2 separate regions of the Homo sapiens genome follow, and region 1 is linked to region 2. Evidence: promoter capture Hi-C in 16 types of primary human blood cells and fetal thymus (Javierre and others, 2016). All regions are on one chromosome and are shown on one strand. The core of a region is centred on a gene start or on the middle of the fragment in contact, and the rest is flanking DNA. Distances in the headings are between cores, read along the strand shown. Region 1 has its middle 14 kb from the start of TASL. Region 2 holds the start of GK (glycerol kinase).

Region 1 (7,266 bases), core at 2,454-4,953, 62 kb after region 2:
AAGTTAAAAAATTTAAAAAAATTTAAAAGCCTCTCTCATTTAAGAATGTCCTTGATGAAACAGCAAGAATTATTAATTTTATTAAATCTTGACTCAAGTACACTTAAAAAACTTCCCTGCAATGAAATATGAGGCATGCATAAAGCACTTCCGCTGCACACTGAAGTAGAATAGATGCCGCCAGGAAAAGCATTTGAGTGATTGGGTTGATGGCTTAACTAGTGGCTTTTCTCGTGAAACACTATTTTTACTCCAAAGAGCAACTGGCAAACCATGGTTTTTCAGACTTGGAGATCTGGCAAACATTTGCTTGAAAATGAATGAAGTCTGTTTGTCACTTCAAGGAAAACAACTGACAGTATATATGTGGCCAACAATGAAACTCAAGTGTTCAAATGAATATTACAATTTTGAAAAACCTATTCCACTATTGGGATTTTGACAGCATCTCAGTACCTACTGACTCTCCTGATGAGACTGGTTGTGATATTAACAAATGTGATGTTTTGATATTATACAGTAGGAAATGTGCCAGCATTTGGAAGGGCTGCATAACTCAGGGAACTGATATTTTTTCAAATGACCAATGTATGATATAAAATCTTGCATGAGTAAATGATGCATTAAAAGTATAAGATGGATCAATGGGTTTTAATATAATGAAGTACAAGAAGTTCATAATATACTTTCTGTTCCACATTACAAGCAACCTTTAAGAAATTGTCACTTGTCAAGTTTTGGTGTTGTGTCCAAGAGGAATATCCACAGTTATCTGAAAAGCTTTTAACACACTCTTTCCTTTTTCAACAGCATATTTCTGAGAGGCTGGATTTTCTTCATATACTTCAAGTAGAATTCTTCAATCAAAACAGCTTATCCCAATAGATTAAATGCAGAAACTAATTGTCTTCTATAAGCCAGGTGTTAAAGAGATTTGTAGAAATAGAAAAGGATGCTACTCTTCTCGTTAATTTTTTTGAAAAATAATTTTTAAATCAAAAGTACATTATTTATATTACCACATAATGGGTCTATTATTATAATTATTAAATGGGCCAATAAATGTTTCAAAATTTCTTAGTTTTAATTTTGCTTATGGACAATATCAATATAACCCACATAAGAGCTCTTTGAAATTCTCCATAATTTTGTTTGCTTGTTTTGTTTCTTTATAGACAGGGTCTTGCTTGTTGAGTGCAGTGACTATTCACAGGTGTAGTCGTAGCTCACTGCAGCCTTGAACTCCTGGGCTTAAGCAATCCTCCTGCCTCAGCCTCCCAAGTAACTGGGACTGAAGGCACGCACCACTCTCCACAATTTTCAAGTGTGTAAAGGAATCCTGACACCAAAACGTTTTATAACTGCTACTTTAGATCATTATTTCTGAACACTAGAATGGCTCAACACTAGAATCACCTAGGGAACTTTAAAAAATGACCAATGCTTGGCACCAACCCAGATAAATTAGAGTATTTGTGTTTGCAACCCAGGTATTAATATATATGTACTTTTAGAAACTCACCAGGTGGCGCACCTGTACTCCCAGCTACTAGTGGGGCTGAGGCAGGATGATCGCTTAAGCCCAGGAGGTTGAGGCTGCAGTGAGCTGTGATTGCACCACTGCACTCCAGCTTGGGTGACAGAGTGAGACCCTGTTTAAAAAAAAAAAAAAAAAACAGCGAAAAAACTCCCCAGATATTACTAATGTACATCCAAAGTTAAAAACTATTGCTGTAGGGTAGTCTAATCGTAAGAATCTTCTGAGGCAGTTGTTAAATGTGGCAGTCCCAGGTCCAAATCTAATGAACCAAATCTCCAGGGGAAGGGCCTAGAAAATCTGCATATTTAATAAGCACATCAGGTGATTCTTAAAATGAGATAATTTGGGAAACATTCCACCTTTCTCTTCCCAACTTCCTCATTCTTGATGACAGGCTCATTAGTTGCTAACAAAGGCATTATTCAACTAAATTCGACCCACAGAAGTTTGGAGTATATGCCTTAAAACCTATCTTTTAATGTGAGATTTTGCTGCAGAAATGGCTTTAAAACTTAAAGTTTTGAAAGTATAAAGACACAGTAGTTAGTTGTTTGACAAGGCACTATTCTCGTGTGGAAGGTCTCTTGTCCAGGCAACTCAAATTTCACAGTTTTGTGGGGGGCACTTTATGAATTTGAGTTGGGTAAATGAATGAATTCTGCATGGGCAGCTGACTCTTCACCTTAAATGTTCAGAGGGACCTACGTCAGAGGACCAGAAAGAACCAGTTTTTCTGACTTGATCATCTTGTAATTCAGATAAAAGCTTTGTAAATACAAAAAAACATGTCCTCATGAATTGCAAGAAGGAAAATAGACCCAAGGAGAGGTTCAAATGGATTACCTTGGAGTGCAGACTAGAAAGGGGTTTATGGGAATCACTTGAGAAGTGAAACTTGCCCGAATAGAATATATCCTCAAATTCCGACTTTTTCTCTTCTGGTGAAACAGGAAGAAGGCACTGTCAGTATTAAATAGTAATTTCCTGTCTGCAACACCACAGTCATTTTTTTTTTCCTGATCAGAGAAGTCCCTGAACTACGAGCCTTTTGGAGGTAGAAATCAAACCTTAGTGGTTTTTATGTATAAAATGCCTAATACCTGGCCCTTAATAAATGCTCAATAAGTAGTTTCTGAATTGAATAAAGTAGTGATCAAGTCTAGATCTCGATGTTAAAAAGGTACAAAAATTCTATAATTCTACATGGAGCATTTCTTTTTTTTTCTTTTGAGACGGATTCTCACTTTGTTGCCCAGGCTGGAGTACTGTGGTGTGATCTTGGCTCACTGCAACCTCCGCCTCCCAGGTTCAAAAGCAATTCTCCTGTCTCAGCTTCTCCAGTACTGGGACTATAGGCGCACACCACCACGCCCGGTTAATTTTTGTATTTTTAGTAGAGATGGGGTTTCACCATGTTGGCCAGGCTGGTCTTGAACTCCTGACCTCAGGTGATCCACCCGCCTCGGCCTCCCAAAGTGCTGGGATGACAGGCGTGAGTCACCGAGCCTGGCCTATATGGAACATTTCTTTAAGGTAACTTGTGTTCAACAAGGCTCACATTGAAAATTGTAAAAATTGTAAGAAAAACTTAGTTCTTCCAGAAAAGATACACATAAAATTGAAAACAATGTTTTCCTTTGGAAAGTGGAAATAAGGGAGTTAGGGGAGAAGACTTTTTTCTTTATAGCTCTGTACCATTATATATATTTTAAACCACGAGCAGGTAATTTATATAAATTATTTTTAAATGACAAGTTCAAAATTTGAATTGCATAATCATTTAAGCGGAGATGTTGAAGGGACTTTGGAAATCCCTCTCCCTTCCCCAGCCCCAACTCACAGAAAAGTTCCAACGGCCTCCTCACTGTTACCTACATGTGGCAGTTGTTAGAATGCCCACAGTTGTCCACTTCTTCCATCAAGAGGTAGATTAATGAGAGTTAATCCAAAGTAATTGTACAGAAATATATTAATTTTATCCTTTCCTATCCTATTACTATTTAATTAACTCAGTAATCTATACTTCTTTGATACTTGCACAATACCTTTAAAAACTGTAATTTATCTTTTTACATATTTGTCTGATTTCTGCCATTGTACTGTTGATTCTGAATGGTAGGAAGTTTTTCTCATCTCTGTCTCAAAACGCTGTGTACTAGATGTTGTATATAATACATAGAGAATAGTCCTCTGGCTTTGGAGTCAGAAAAGCCTGGGTCCAAATTCCTGGCCCTGACTTCCTGTGTGACTTTGGACAAAGTAATTAGCCTCTCTGAAATCCAAACTTTTCTTATTTTAAAAAATAATCAAACATGCTCTATAGGATTATTTTGAGGATTAAATGACATAAATCAAACCTTTTAGTCTATAATGCACGTATAGTAGGCATTCTGCAAATAAGAGCTTTTGCTATATAAAGGCTTAAGATGCAGAACGTAGGTGCCTTGAAACCTTGTTACTCAAAGTGTAGTCCTCCACAGATGAGCACCATTGCCATCCCATGGGAGATTGTTAGAAATATAGAATGTCAGGGCACACCCCAGATCTACTGAATCTGGATTTAAACAGGATTCCCAGGTGATTCATATGCGTGTCAAAGTTTGAGAAGCATTGTCTTAAAAGACCATTCTTATTGTATATGTTTAAAGTGTACAGCATAATGTTTTAATATATTGATCTTAATATACATATACATAGTGATTACTGTAGTCAAGCAAATTAACATACCTAGCATCTCATAGTTACCTTTTTCCTTTTCTTTTTTTGTGGTAAGAGTACTTAAAGTCTAAGAGATTTTAAAGTAAAGCCAAGAGATTTGTAAATCAATTTGATATGAATCTGTACAATTAAGCACTTACATCTACTGGATTAGATTCTCATTAGATTAGATTCTTATCTCATTGTTTGATGGGAATTTCTGATAATGAGCCCCCAACAGAAAGTTTGCATTGTCATATGCTTCGTAGTAATCCCTTCAAGAGACTTGATAGAAAGGATTTATTTTTGCTCTAAATTTTGAAACTAATTAGTTGACTTCTACTAAATGTGAATGTAGAGGGATTCATTAATTTAAAATTTATCTTGAAAGATGTTTTTCATTAGCCTCAAGCATTGTTCTTCTCACCTCCAGGAGTTACAGAGCAAGGGAAAGAATTACAAAGAATAGGAATTGCTTTATTGTTATAAATGTGTGCCTGTAAATAGACAGAAGTTGCTTAAACAAAACTAGCTCTTCGATCTATAATCTGATATATACATTTGCTTGAATTTTACTCATAGAGGGACAGGACCCAAAGAGGGGTTTGATGTGGTCAGTTGGAGACAGAGATGAAAAATTTCTACCCCAGAAGCCTCTCCATAGAGAGGAAATCTGGAGTCTTAAGGGCTCAACGGCACTAATTTCACTTCTCCATTGCTTTGTGAAATAACGTTACTTGGACTGAAGTTCCAGTTTCTCCTCCATAGGACTCATGTGTCCCTGACTGTCTTTATTAACATGAGCCAGTGCTATGGCATGATAAAAATAGAATCAAGGGGGGAAATAAAAACTAAGAAGCTTTCCAAAGAGAATGTAAATTGTAAAAAATTTGGAACTTTCTCTGGGGTGTATAAATCCCACCACTTGGCTTTGGAGTGTCTCGTCCCTTTTCCTTAAAAAATATGCCAAAATTGCACAATCTCGTGGGATTAGAGGACACCAAGATTATGCAGGTTTAATTTTTCTAGGCTCTTTTACCTCTGAATATAAGTCTGAGAACTGTTCAACTGGCTCTCACAAAGGAACCTCTGAACTTCTAACAACTATTTGATGACAGAAACTAAACTTTTCATAAAAGCTTGTATAAAGAGCAATATTTAAACTGCTTGGAAGCTTTGCTCTCGAGAGCCACTGTCCTAAAACAGTCAAGTTGGAAGAGAGAGATGGTTTGGGGAGCCCACTATCATCTTTAGAGTTGAAGGTTTACCAAGCTCATTCTTTCTGTTATAGTTCAAATTATCTAAACATGCAGAGAAAAGGATGCTAAGGAAAACAGAATCCATATCTTACCTCAAAATACAGTGTTAACCTATTAGTTTAATGTGTCTTTTTCATTTAATTTAGTTCTTTACAGAGTACCATATTTTGGATGTTTCTCCCTTCCAAATCTCATGTTGAAATTTGATCCCCAGTGTTGGAGGTGGGGGTCTAGTAGAGTTTGGGTTGTGGGGGCAGATCCCTTATGAATGACTTGGTGCTATTCCTGCAGTAATGAGTGAGTTCTCACTCTATGGGTTCTGTGACAGCTGGTTGTTAAAAAGCACCTCCCACCTCTTGCTTTCTCTCCTGCCATGTGATCTCTGCACACATCAGCTCACCTTCACCTTCTATCACGAGTAGAAGCAGCCTGAGGCTCTCACCAGACGCAGATGCCCGATCGTGAACTTTTCTAGATGTCAGAATCATGAGCCAAAAAACCTTTTTTTCTTTATAAATTACTTGGCCTCAGATATTCCTTTATAGCAAGGCAAATGGACAAAGACAGAAAATGGGTACCAAGGAGTGGGTTGTTTCTATAAAGAAATACCTGAAAATGTGGAAGCAGCTGTGAAACTAGGTAATGGAAATAAAGTCTCAGATGGAAATGAGGAACTTATTGGGAACTGGAGCAAAGGTCACCCTTGCTGCATAGCAAAGAACTTGGCTGCATTATGTCCTGTGCTCTATGGCTTTGTGGAAGGCTAAATTTAAGAATGATGACCTGGGGTATCTGGAAGAAAAAATTTCTAAGCAGCAAAGCCTTGAAGAAGTGGCATCGTTGCTTTGAACAGCTTATGATCAGATATGACAGCAAAAGAAGGATCTAAAGTTGGAATTTATAATTTAAAAAGAAGCAAAAATCAAAACTATAATGAGATATCAACTCACTCCAGTTAAAACGGTTTTTATCCAGAACCATTGGATAAAATAACAAGTGCTGGCGAGGTGTGGAGAAAACGGAACCCTCATACACTGTTGGTGGGAATGCAAATTAGTATAACTGTTACGAAGAGCAGTTTAGAGGTTCCTCATAAAACTAAAAATAGAGCTACCATATGATCCAGCAATCCCACTGCTAGATATATACCCCAAAGAAAGGGAATCAGTATATCTAAGAGATATCTATACTCCTATGTTTACTGCAGCACTGTTCACAATAGCTAAGGTTTGGAAGCAACCTGAGTGTCTGTCCATCAACAGATGAATGGATAAAGAAAATGTGGTACATACACACAATGGAGTACCGTTCAGCCATAAAAAAGAATGAGATCTTGTTATTTGCAAAAACATGGATGGAACTGGAGATCATTATATTAAGTGAAATAAGCCAGGCCGGGCGCGTGGCTCATGCTTGTAATCCCAGCACTTTGCGAGGCTGAGGCGGGCAGATCATGAAGTCAGGAGTTCGAGACTAGCCTGGCCAATATGGTGAAGCTCTGTCGCTATTAAAAAATACAAAAATTAGCCGGGAGGCGGAGGTTGCAGTGAGTAAAGATTGTGCCACTGCACTCCAGCATGGGCGACAGAGCAAGAGTCCATCTCAAAAAAAAAAAAAAAAAAAAAAAAGAAAGAAGAAAGAAAGAAAGAAAGAGAGAAAGAAAGAAGCCAAGCACAGAAAGACAAACATCACATGTTCTCACTTAGCTGTGGGAGCTAAACATTAAAATAATTGAATTCATGGACATAAAGAGTAGAAGGATGATTAACA
Region 2 (7,197 bases), core at 1,335-3,834:
ATTTTACTGATCAACTTTTATAAAATCATTCTCTAAGCAGGATAAGAATCTTCTGAATTTGCATCTTAGCTTACATGCAATGAGACGAGGCCTCACAGAACCCAGTAAACAGGAGCCAATTTTTGAAGGCTCATGTTGTTCATGTTACAGACTGAACAATTAATTGTGGTAATATGAAGTTGATCAAGTTCTTCTTCATTGATGTAGAAAGATGTCTTTTAGGCAACAAAACCTGAGGGACCAAGAACAACCTGTAGTGAATAAAGAAGATTGCTGGGCTACATGGACAGCAATAATGAACAGTCAAAAAGAAGGCATGGACAGTTCAAGCTGACTCCTAAAGGAAGCCTACAAAGTTATGAAATATTTTACCCATTTTCATATTGAGCAAAGGCTGTATAAACTTGAGAACATCTGCCATGCTTGGTTTGGCCCCCACAGTGCTTTATAAACTAATTGCCAACATTTAAGAATTGAAAGATTTCATTGAAAACTCTAGACTACCTGCTTTTAATCTGACGATCTGGCAGCACTGGGCTTGTGTTCCTGCTTGGCAGCTACTAGCTGTCCCCTTGACCTGGATATCTCTCTAGTCTGCCTTCCCCCTTCTACCTGCCTGGTCCCTGCAGGCATTTGTGTGGGCAATTCTTGAATATGGCTTTAAACATCAACCCACAGTTAGTTGGCACATGTCTTAATGGTCTTTCTTAAGTTGGGAAGATGATGATCGTGTATATTATGTATTAATCAAATCCAGTTAAGCAAACTTTCTTATGATTCAGGATTACTCTATAAACATTTCTATGAATATAAGACAAAGTGAAACCTGCCCTGGGTGATCAAAAGATAAACAGTGCAAGAGACAGTGGAACTATGCTTGGCAGCTCAAACCAGGGTAAGTCATTAAATAAGATTCAAACCAAAATTAGACTGAAAGCTTCTCACTTTAGACAAAAAAAGATATGTCAGGATCAAAGCACAAATGCAGTTTTTAGTCAAGTGCCAGCTCTGACAGAACTTTGAAAAAATATATACATTGTATGTATAATGCCTATGTATAAATATACACATATGTGTATATATGTACAGATATATACATACTAAATAACACAGGAAAACATGATTTGCGGTAAAGTGAAGAGCTAAATAATCATTAAATATTTACATCAACTTGCCAAGTTAGTCAAATATCCATTGAAAGCATGGGCTTTTATCAGCAGGCATTCATTTCAATTACTTTTATTTATTTTTTATTTATTTTTATTTTTTTGAGACAGAGTCTCGCTCTGTTGGCTAGGCTGGATTGCCCAGGCTGGAGTGCAGTGGTGTGATCTCTGCTCACTGCAACCTCCGCCTCCCGGGTCCAAGTGATTCTCCTGCCTCAGCCTCCCGGGTAAGTAGGATTACAGGCGCCCGCCACCACGCCCAGCTAATTTTTGTTATGCCAGGTTGGCCAGGCTGGTCTCGAACTCCTGACCTTAGGTAATCCACCCGCCTCAGCCTCCCAAACTGTTGGGATTACACGTGTAAGCCACCGCGCCCGGCCTCAATTACTTTTAAATTATCTTACTGAACTCTGTGCTAGGTCACTTTAAGAGCAAGTTTACTAATTGCACAAAAATTAATCAGCAGTCACTTAAATAGCAATCTTTTGTGGTAAAACTGTGCTGTCACACATGGTAAATAAAAAGAGAAACAGAATTTCCGTGTCGCATTATGCTGTGAAGCACAGTAAGGACAATCATTTGTTTGTAATGGGCAAAGTCTCAGAACTGAAATTTGCGAGTCTTCGGAATTAAATAAAGATTATGGCAAAACCAGTGTAGTGTGACTGTTTCCTAATTTGTTCTGCCACCCTCCCCAGTATTCAACCCTCTGCAATTTTTATGGGAGAGGATGACAACGCATCATCACTCCAATACTTTATTCGTTCTACTGCTGGAAAGGACGCTGTGTTAGCTACCACAGCCGTGACACAGCTTTCCCCCCATCCAAGGACGTCCTGTGTCTCGCAGGCCAAATGTTCCTGGGGAAGACCGCGGTAGCCGTCAATGTGGCCACCTGTCCCCTACTGCAAGCGGGCCGCTCTGCGCGGATGCTCGGAGAGTCCCTGCTCCCTTTGGGGGAAGAGTCACCCCATTAGTAGGTGACCCAGCTCCGCCACCAAAACTGCGACTGTTCAACTCGGCCATGGGGGTCATGAGAGGCCGAGGTCCCCCAGGCCTGGCTGGGGCATCCCCAGTGTGGCAGGTCCCGTTCCGGCCTCCCTCCTTGCCCAGCGGCCGGGGCACCGGGCCGGAGAGATGCGGGATGGGGACACAACAGCCACCCCCTCCGTCCCCCGACTCCCGCCCCGGCTCAGCGCCTCTTCACATGTCACCCCGGGCTCACCAAAAAGCGCGTCGAACTGGTGCCCTGGTCCACCGCCCCCACCAATGGCCCCAAAACTGCCTTCTTTGAGGCTGCCATGAAACCAGCTTCAGGTCGGCCGGCGATTGCGGCCGGTTTCCTGGGTGACGGCGGCGGGAGGGGGAGGGGCAGGTGACGAGTCCAGAGATCGAGGCCGCGCGCGTCCGCTGAACGCTCGGACCGCGCTCGAGGCGGCCCCTTTACCCGCGCGCAGCCTTCTCACCCCGCCCCTCCGGCCCAGGCCCCGCCCCCCACCGCGTACCCCCAAGGCTCCAGGGGCGTGTCAGGGGGGGTGGGGGTGGGCGCTGTCACCTGGGCTGGCCAATCAGCAAACGCAAAAGAGCCGAACGCTCGGACAGGCAGAGGGCGATGAGACGTCACGGGGGCGGGGCCTGGGCGCGGTGGAGGCGGCGGCCCGCGCAGTAGGTCACGTGGGGGCCCGGCGAGCGGACAGCAGAGCCATCCAGCTGCATGGCATGGGGCGGAGACGAGTACTGCCCTTTGGCAGGCAGCGCTCCTGGCCGGCGAAAAGAGCGCACTTCCACTAGTGTCCTGGGGCTCGCCTCCATAGGGGTCTCAAAGTGTGTAGAACTGCTTGTTCCCTCCAGTGGGCTGTGCAGAGTCGTGCAGCGACGTGAGTCGCTGTGTGGACCTACCCGGCCCGGCCTTCCCGCGTTTCCCACGCCCCGCCCACCTCCCTGCATCTGGCCCCTGGTAATCGTAATCATTCCTTTGGCTGGGATTGACCCCATATAGGGTCACCTCAAGGAGCAACGCGAATCCTTCACCGTTGCAAGCTTTTCAGGGACAAGAAACGCGGAAGTTCTTTCGGTTTAGCATTTAAGGAAAGCACCCAAAATCAACCTCCCCAAGTTCCTCTATCGACCATTCAGGCAGAAGGCGCCCGGCACCACTCCGTCCTGACGCGCCCTTGCTCCTCGTTTGGCCTCACTCTGCGGTCCCCTCCCCCACACGCCATTTCCTCTCCCTCCATTAACTGCTTTGGATGGCAGGGGACAGAAAAGGGACTCTCCCTTGACCTTGAATTTACCTTGCCCGGATCCTTCTGGATCCTGTGTTCTAAGGGCTTTCAAACTTGGAACCAAGACCCACACTGTGAAACAGTTTACAAAACAAACCCAGGCTCCAGTGTGTGTGGGCGGGGAGCACATTTGTAGTTACAATTGTTACACATGTAAATACATGTTATATACATCTAATATACATTTATGTATGTATAGAAAAACTTTCCAAAACAATATTTGTCCTTCCACAGTATGCATTCTGTATTTTTATTCTATGGCATATCATTTTTTTTTAATGCTGATTGAAAATCACTAAATTGCTTTTGTAACCCACCATGCTCTCTATCAATTTTAAAAGCACTCCGCTATACCCACTGTCATTTCTTTCCATCCCTTTCCCAAATCTCTGTGTTCTGGAACATCATTTCTTTTCCTTTTTTTTTTTTTTCCTTTCTTACCTTGCTCTACACCACGTCACTTGTCCATCTCTGTTTGTATAGTTTTACCACACATGATCTGAAAGCAAATTTTCCTAAACACCGTCTAGACCTCACATTCTAATGTTCCAGATGAAGCCTGCTTATGGACATACTAGATTTAATAACTATCGATAAACTGGCTTGCTTTAATATAAGAGTGAAGATGAGTCAGTATCTCTGAATTTCCTGGAAGAGGAAAAGAGGGAGACAGGCATATAAGCAAGGAACCAGGCCAACTTGCCTCTAAAAACAGTGAAAGGCATTAGTTGAGTGAATGATATAGAAAAGGATTTTCTTGGTTCTAGAAGGCAGTAAAAACAAAGCCACCAAACCTACCACATCGATCCATTAAAAAAAAAAAATCCCTGACCACGTTTGAACTTTCACATACTTTTGACTCTCAGATTCCAACAGGACAGCAAATTATTTGTTTGGCAGCACAATGGGATCAGAATTCAGACATTTCAGAATAAGTTGGGCTAGATGTACATGGGGGATTCTTAAATTTGTTGATCCTATGGTTCCTACAACAATGTGTATTCCACATCCTCATTCCTTTCACCAAAACAAAACTGAAAAGCCAAAATATTGGCCTTTCAGGCGTCACATCTCAGCACCCTGTTAGAGATGAGGTAAAGATAAGGGGAAAGGTGTTAGATGGAAGAGTTGAGCTCAGCCTATCTTAAATATTTACTGTGAACTTTTTTTTTTTTTTTTTTTTTTTTTTTGAGTTGGAGTCTTGCTCTTTCGCCCAGGCTGGAGTGCAGTGGTGCAATCTTGGCTCACTGCAACCTCCACCTGCCTGGTTCAAGCAATTCCCCTGCGTCAGCCTCCCAAGTAGCTGGGACTACAGGCCCGCGCCACCATGCCCGGCTAATTTGTTGTATTTTTAGTAGAGATGGGGTTTCACCATGCTGGGCAGGCTGGTCTCGAACTCCTGACCTCGTGATCCGCCCGCCTTGGACTCTCAAAGTGCTGGGATTACAGGCGTGAGCCACTGCGACCGGCCTACTGTGAATTCTTATAAGTCCACTTTGTCTTATTTTTTTAGAATTACAGTCAGCCTTCCATATGTGAGGGTCTCTTATCCAAGGATTCAGCCAACCGCAGATCAAAAATATTTGAAAAAATGTCAATACAACAATAACAAACAATACAAATAAAAACAATACCATGTAACAACTATTTTCATAGCATTTACATTGTATTAGGTGTTATAGTTAATCTAAAGATGATTTAAATTTACTGGAGGATGTGCATAGGTTACATGCAAATACTATGCCATTTTATATAAGGCATTTGAGCATTCTCGGATTTTTGTATCCTCGGGGTAGGGAGGGTGAGTGTGTGTGGTGAGGGCGGCGGGGGTGGGGTCGTCCTGGAATTAATCCCCAGAGGGACAAATCCCCTTTTGCTTGACTTTTCTCACTCCCTCAAGCCCCAGCTATTGTCCAAAACCTTTATATAATTGTAAAAATCAACCAATAGACACTCTGATTCCATTTTTCTTACTATAATTGAGACAGAGTTGGAAGTATTAATAACAATGGGGCCTCTGAGGCCAAGAGCGCATAAGTGACATACATCTTAAGACTAGCCAGCCTCCTGTGGTAGAATCAGAACCAGAATTTCAGTCTCCTGACATCAAACCTAGTGCCCTTTTACCAGAGTCTGAGGGAAGGGAAGCTGAAGGAAGTTAGGTAGGAAACCAAACAAAAAGGAAAAAAGACAGGATGCTGGTTCACCTTCTTCTCACCACCCACCCCAGATATGAAGGCAAAGCAATAGAGAAAACACTGGACTGGGAAGAGAAGGACATTGGTTTGATCTTGGCCCTGCCATTCAACACTTAATCATCATGGGCTTGAGTAATAACTCATTTATTTCCATGGCTTCTTGTTACTTGTTTGTAAAATAGGGAAAATGTCACTGACGTAGATGGGTCAATGTGAGACTTAAATGATGTAATGCCTGCTAAAGCACTGTACAAGCAGAACGGTTAATCATGAAAGGCAAGAGGCAGTCTCACTGTCCTATCTCCATCAAAGAAACCCAGAGGTGAAGATCAAGGTCCTTCATGCAAATTAAGTAGCTTGAGTCACCTAAAGCTCACTGTGATGATTTCTGACTGGTAAAGCAGGAAATCAATGGTAACCTCCCTCTTGGAGAGTCCCTAGGTGTTTCACTTATTCTTCCTCTGGTTTTTCCTGTTTTTTGTTGATTTACACAGAATTTATGTAAGCAGAAAGCCTACACTTCCCTCGAGAATCTCTGCACCCCCTTTTCCCCCAGAAGTGCTTCTTGGTCTTCACTTATTTGCCTGAGAAGTAACACTTATGTTTTCAAGTTTAGTCTGTTTGGAAAGCTACCCTTTCCTTAACCCCTCCTTGCTAGTTTAATGATTACTTGGATATGGATTAATATGAATATTGGAAGTACAACGTGGAGTTAGTGCTGGAAAGGACTATAGTAAAGAGCACAGGCACATTGTTATTTTATGGGATTGGGATGATTTAAGCAGATATACAAAGTGTTTTGCCCAAGGTAGCAGAGGGAGTTAAAGACAGATTCGGGATTCAGTTTTTTTGTTTTTTTTTTTTTTTTGTTTTTTTTTTGAGATGGAGTCTCTCTGTCTCCCAGGCTGGAGTGAAGTGGCCTGAACTTGGCTCGCTGCAACCTCAGCCCACCACCAACCTTGAACCACCAGTTCAAGTGATTCTCCTGCCTCAGCCTCCCAAGTAGCTGGGATTACAGGTGTGTGCGACCATGCCCCGCTAATTTTTGTATTTTTAGTAGAGACGGGGTTTCACCACGTTGGCCAGGCTGGTCTCGAACTCCTGACCTCAGACCATCCACCCTCCTCAGCCTCCAGAAGTGCTAGGATTACAGGTGTGAGCCACCGCGCCCGGCCCACAGATTCGGAATTTAAACCCGCTTGATAAAAATAGGCAAATTGGGAGCCTACCCCCACCCTCTATAAATTGAAGCACCCACTCACATGCATGTTAATAATCTAAGTTGTAACTACCTAAAATAATGTTTCGTTTTATGCAGCATTGCAGTTGTAATCGAGTTAGGGTTTGATAGTTTTTCTCAAACTTTACCTACTTCAAGCCAGGCATGGTGGCTTACGCCTGTAATCCTAGTACTTTGGGAGGTTGAGACGGGCGGATCACCTGAGGTTGGGAGTTCAAGACCAGCCTGACCAACGTGGAGAAACCCCATCTCTACTAAAAATACAAATTAGCCAGGCGTGGTGGTGCATGCCTGTAATCCCAGCTACC

What was found. Contacts are between HindIII fragments. The CHiCAGO score rates a contact against its expected background, and 5 or more counts as called.
Region 1: a contact is called between a fragment that was not itself captured here and the fragment with the promoter of GK in region 2, in 4 of 17 cell types (total B cells, M0 macrophages, M1 macrophages and 1 more). The highest score is 9.9, in total B cells.

Annotation. Positions count from the first base shown.
Region 1 is chrX:30,588,266-30,595,531 of GRCh38, reverse strand. No RefSeq gene overlaps it. Among named protein-coding and RNA genes, the nearest start is that of TASL, 14 kb to the right of the region's middle. RefSeq lists a silencer at 1,576-1,685. The HindIII fragment of the contact is 2,791 bases long and covers 2,308-5,098 here.
Region 2 is chrX:30,648,810-30,656,006 of GRCh38, reverse strand. It overlaps GK (glycerol kinase), which reads right to left and starts at 2,584. Exons shown (of 21, transcript NM_001205019.2): 1 at 2,392-2,584. The coding sequence starts at 2,469. RefSeq lists a silencer at 2,495-2,914. The HindIII fragment of the contact is 2,269 bases long and covers 940-3,208 here.